2 separate regions of the Homo sapiens genome follow, and region 2 is linked to region 1. The links are contacts of gene promoters, found by promoter capture Hi-C in blood cells and fetal thymus (Javierre and others, 2016). All regions are on one chromosome and are shown on one strand. The core of a region is centred on a gene start or on the middle of the fragment in contact, and the rest is flanking DNA. Distances in the headings are between cores, read along the strand shown.

Region 1 (2,700 bases), core at 134-2,633:
GCGCCACTGTACTCCAGCCTGGGCGAGAGAGTGAGACTCCATCTCAAATCATTTATTTCTAAATCTTTGTACATCCGTGTGGTAAAAGCATTTTGTCCATGCAGTCTGAATAATCGCTTGCAAATTATATTCATTTACCACTGTGCTATTAGATACAATACAAAAGTCACAAAGTTGGGATTTTTATTTATTTATATTTTATTTTACTTTTTTGAGACGGAGTCGAGCTCTTGTCACCCACGCTGGAGTGCAATGGCGCGGTCTCCGCTCACTGCAACCTCCGCATCCCAGGTTCAAGCGATTCTCCTGCCTCAGCCTCTCGAGTACCTGGGATTACAGGCGCACGCCACCACGCCTGGCTAATTTTTGTATTTTTAGTAGAGTCAGGGTTTCACCATGTTGGTCAGGCTGGTCTCGAACTCCTGACCTCATGATCCGCCAGCCTCGGCCTCCCAAAGTGCTGGGATTACAGGCGTGAGCCACCGCGCCCGGCAAAACTGGGATTTAAAATGTGGAAAAGTTAACTCCAATTTGAACGTACATTACTTTATTACTACACAGGAATAGCTCATCTTCCACTTTAAAGACTACTGGAAATCACCAGAGCACTTATTTTCACCTCTCTATCTTCCCTCAATATACAGTTCACCTTTCTTGCTACAAGGTAAACTCCTTGGGCAAAACTGAGAGATTGGGTCACCTGTGCCTCCCTCCCTCCCTAACCTCCAGCATTCCTCCTTCCTCAGCTCTTAGTACCAAGCTGCGCCTGGTAACTTAAGTCAATTTCCGCTCTTAAGAGTCCCTTTAGGATCGTTTAAAGGTGAAGCCCAGCGGAAAGGATACAGGATACAGCAGTGAAACTCTCAGCTCCGAAAAGGCTTGAGCCTCTTACTAAACATGCAGGGATGCAAGAAACGGTGCTCGGGGATGAGACTAAGGACCGGCTGGGAATCTGGAAGGGTTCCAAGTTTGGGGTTTAGGCAAACTTCGGGTTCACGTTTCCACAAACGTCGAGTTTACGCGCCCCCGCCAGCAGACCTGAATTGAATACGGGCCACGGGGAAGCCTAAAGCAAGTGACTTACTTTAAGCCTCAGTTTCCCCATTTGTGAATTAGTTGCTCGGATCCCTGGAGGAGATACGCGTACGCGCAGTTCACGTTTCAGAAAAAAGGGAAGGCTAGGGACAAAGACGCCCATGTCTTATATTACCTCGAAAGATGACTCCAACTCGTCCACCAAAGTACTGCTGGAAGGTCTAGGAGCGCCTGGAGCTGCCTGAAGAAGCGAAGCTTGGCCCGGAAGGCCCGGCGGGGCCTGAGGGGGACCGGGTGGCTGCCCAGAAAACATACCCCCTAGTGGAGCCGCCATGTTTGGAATGGCGCAAGAGAGATCCACTGCGCCTGCGCGGAAGCCGGCTCAGAAGCTCACGTGGCTGGTGTAGTAGGCGTGGTCACGTGACAGGACCGAGCGATGGGAGGATTCTGGTGCACCCCGGAAGGAGGATTTTTAATTCTTCTGTTTTCTTGTCTATCGCAAAACAGAGTTTACATGTATTTTCCTTTTTTCTTAGCTTAAGAATTGAAGACTTTGGCCGGATTAGACCTGGTTGTGTGGAGAGGAGAATTAATAACTACAGTGGAGCGAGCCCTCCTGCGAGAGTCAGGATACTACTATGCTAGTCCCGACTCTGCCCCAAATGCCTGGAGAGACTTTGGCTAAGTCACTTTTTCTTTCCGCGGGCTGTTTACCGTTGGTAAAAGGAGAGGGTCACCCACTCACTCCACAAACATTTGTTGAGTCATTGGTTATAGCGGGAACAAGACAGGCAAAGTTCTTCCTGAATTCTGGTCGGAGATGGATAACGGAAACAACTTTGTTGAGGTTCCCAATGTGCCCGGCACTGATGTCTTTAAATATTTATGGTTACATCAAAGAGAAAGTCACTATGCTAATCTTTTTTTTTCTTTCTTTTCTTTTTTCTCAGGGTCTCGTTCTGTCGCCCTGGCCGGAGTGCAGTGTCATGATCAGGGCTCGACCTCCCGGGCTCAAACAATCCCCCTACTTCAGCCACCCAAGTAGCTAGGACCACAGGTGCGTGCAGTCGCGACGGGCTTTTTTTTTTTTTTTTTTTTTTTTTTTTAGTTGAGTCAGGTGTTTTACTGAGCTCAAGTGATTCTACCGCCGCGGCCTCCCAAAGTGTTGGGAATACAGTAATGAGCCAAGGCGCCAGGCTGCTAATTTTTTTTTTTTGAGACAGAGTCTCGCTTTGTCGCCCAGGCTGGAGTGCAGTGGCGCGATCTTGGCTCACTGCAAGCTCCGCCTCCCGGGTTCACGCCATTCTCCTGCCTCAGCATCCCGAGTAGCTGGGACTACAGGCGCCCGCCACCACGCCCAGCTAATTTTTTGTATATTTGGTAGAGATGGGGTTTCACCGTGTTAGCCAGGATGGTCTCGATCTCCTAACCTCGTGATCCGCCCGACTCGGCCTCCCAAAGTGCTGAGATTACAGGCGTGAGCCACCGCGCCCGGCACTAGGCTGCTAATCTTGTAGTAACCTGCTTTTAACATTTGCTTATCTCTCTCTTTTTTTTTGGTGACGGAGTCTCGCTCTGTCGCCCAGGCTGGAATGCAGTGGCGCGATCTCGGCTCACTGAAACCTCCGCCTCCTGGGTTCAAGCAATTCTCCTGCCTCAGCCTTC
Region 2 (2,700 bases), core at 156-2,655, 7.5 Mb after region 1:
TGCCCTTTGGGGTTTTTACACACAGCCCTGACCATTTAGGGGAAGGAATTTTTAGGGGCAGAACTTCCTCTCATGCCCCTGCCCAGGCATCTTCCATCTCTGGATGCCCTCCCCAGCGGAAGGCCCATGGGAGCCCCACCCTTTCTACGGCAGCACGGCCTGGGGAGGAGGTCGTCCAGGCTGGGAGAGCCCACGAGGCCATCTGTCTGGCGGGATGGGCAGGTGCCCCTGTATGTGAGCGTGAGACCTCCCCCATCCCCAGTCAGCTGTGAGTGTACACCGAACAGGGTCTTGGAGGGGCTGCCTGTTAAGTGGATCATTTTCTTGCCAGGTGCTTTGGGTAGGGATGTGTCAGTGTCAGAATATGAAGGACTAATTGGAGTGGGAGAGGGTTGGATTGGGCAGACATTTAATAAATAGCCAGCATCTTAGTTTTATTGAGGTGTACTTTAGATACAGTAGAATTTGTCTGTATTCAGTGTGTGGCTTGGATCTTGACAGATGACCTATATAGTCCCATAAGCACCACCCCTGTCATGACAGAACATTCCTGTCACTCCGGAGGGTGCCCCCCGCCCCCGCCACCCCTTCCACCCTCACCCCCAGCAGCTGCTTATCTGCTTTCTGTCATTGGGGTTGCCTTTTCTAAAATCTTCTTTCATATGAAGTGAGAGGCAATGTGTAGTCTTTTCTGTCTGGCTTTTTCACTTTGCATAACATGTTGGCGATTGATAGCTGGTGTTGAGTGCATTTGCACTTTGTTCCTTTCTATCACTAAGCAGTGCGGTGTGTTGCCTGTTTCTCTGTTCACCTGTTGATGGATATTTGGGTATTTCCAGTTTTTGGCCATTGCAAAGAAAGCTTCTGTGAACATTGCTCCTGTGTCTTTTGGTGGACACATGCTTCCATTTCTCCAGGGCAGATACCTAGGAGTGGGGTTGCTGGTGTTTGGTGTGAGTAGTGTCTGTTTAGGTTTATAAATAACCTGCCCAACTCTTTTCCAACTGTACCATTTTGCATTTCCACCAGCAGTGTGAACATTCCAGTGTCCCCACCCCTCTACCCTTGCCAGCACTTGGTGATGTCAGTCTTTTCTTTTTATTGATTCTAGTGAGTATGGAGTGGTATTCTGTTGTAGTTTTGACTTGCATTTCCCAAGACTAATGACACTGAGCGCTTTTTCATGTGCTTACTTGTCATTCGTAGTATCTTCTTTGGATAGACACCTTGATACATTCTAATTTCACTGGCGAACGATTATCCCAAAATGGATTAATTTATGACTGGTGTCTATTATATCACATAATGCTGTGTTAAGTCTTAGGGATGAAAGAGAAGGTCTGTGTGTACTTCTTTTTTTCTCCCCCAAACCACTTATTGAGATGGCTAGTGAGATAAAGGTCATGTTAAGCAGGGCACAGCAGAGTTGGAGGAGATGGACAGGAATGCTAGGGACTATGATGTGTGTTGTGCCATCCCGGTGGACATGTTAAATGATCTGGAAGCACAGAAGAGTTGATACGGATAGCTTGGGCCATACTTGGAGGCTTCATGGAGGAGGGAACGCTTCCGTTAGGCCTGATGGGTGAGTGGGTGTCCGTAGGCAGGGAGAGGTGCTGGCCAAGGGCACAGACTACACACAGACGTGGAGCTTAAACAGGATGGCAGAAGGTGGGCAGGAATCAGGGTCTGTACTTCTGTGGTCTCAGTCTCGTGAGATGGGGGCCCCTCAGGTCTTGAGGAGGGGTCTAAGGGAGATGAGGGGTGGGGTGGCAGCAGGTGGGGTCATGCTAGGGGTGCCCGGGCACCCTCACAGGAGTCTGGTGTGTCCTAAGCCTCAAGCTGGCGGGAAGCTGCCTCTTTCAAAGAGCACTTGGTTTGTAAAAAGCTGACAGTAGGTAGCAGAGATTAGATGGCCATGTCTTTATTCCCTCCTGAAAGAAAGCTTCACTGTGGAGACAGATTGAGAGCAGCCCAGTGTGTGTGTGTGTTTCTGTTTCACTGAGGCCCTGCGTGTGTGTGTATGCCGGGAGGGAGGCGCAGGGATCTACTTTTAGCACATTACATGTTGAAACCTCATTGCTGAAGATGCTTCTAGTCTCAAATGTTGGCCCCATTTTTGCCACAAAGTCCACCCAGCCTTTGATCTGTGCTATGCAAGGGAGTGGGGAATCGACTTTCCTTTCCAAACCCAAGTTTTTGATAGAGAGGGCTCCCACAGCGTGTCCTGCTCTGCTCCTGCACAGCACAGCCAGGCGCTGAGTTTGGGGTCCAACATTGATTGGCAGCCAGGAGAGCTGGTCCTAAACACGGAAGAGAACAGAGCGCTGGAATGAATGCAGCTTCCCACAAATGGGAGGGATTAGAACCAGGGCTTCTTGCTCTAATCCACCTTTTGTGTATCTGTTTCACTGATATATTTGTTCTGTATTATGGAAAGTACAGAAAAGCAGAAAAGGAAAAAAATCACCTTGTTGTACAGTCATAGACTAAGGAGAACGAATTAAAGTAACATGAAATTCTATCACCCAGAGATAGGTAGGCAGGCAGTAGATACGTAGGCAAGTGGTATGCTTCTGCGGTTTTCTTCACGGTTTTAGCTTCAGTGTTTCTTTGTACACCCCTTTCACCCCATATCTGTTGATGTGGAGAGCTGGAAGCTTGACTGCTTCTCCATTCCTTCTGTTCATTCCGGGGTCT

What was found. Contacts are between HindIII fragments. The CHiCAGO score rates a contact against its expected background, and 5 or more counts as called.
Region 2: a fragment that was not itself captured here is called in contact with the fragment with the promoter of MED28 in region 1 in 1 of 17 cell types (monocytes); the score reaches 6.1 in monocytes.

Annotation. Positions count from the first base shown.
Region 1 is chr4:17,613,324-17,616,023 of GRCh38, reverse strand. It overlaps MED28 (mediator complex subunit 28), which reads right to left and starts at 1,383. Exons shown (of 4, transcript NM_025205.5): 1 at 1,211-1,383. The coding sequence starts at 1,369. MED28-DT (MED28 divergent transcript) reads left to right here and starts at 1,444. Exons shown (of 3, transcript NR_186331.1): 1 at 1,444-1,882; 2 at 1,986-2,092. RefSeq lists enhancers at 1,234-1,343, 1,444-1,733, 839-2,038. The HindIII fragment of the contact is 7,436 bases long and covers 1,293-2,700 here.
Region 2 is chr4:10,103,997-10,106,696 of GRCh38, reverse strand. All of the region lies in intron 2 of WDR1 (WD repeat domain 1), which reads left to right. Among named protein-coding and RNA genes, the nearest start is that of WDR1, 11 kb to the left of the region's middle. The HindIII fragment of the contact is 1,084 bases long and covers 864-1,947 here.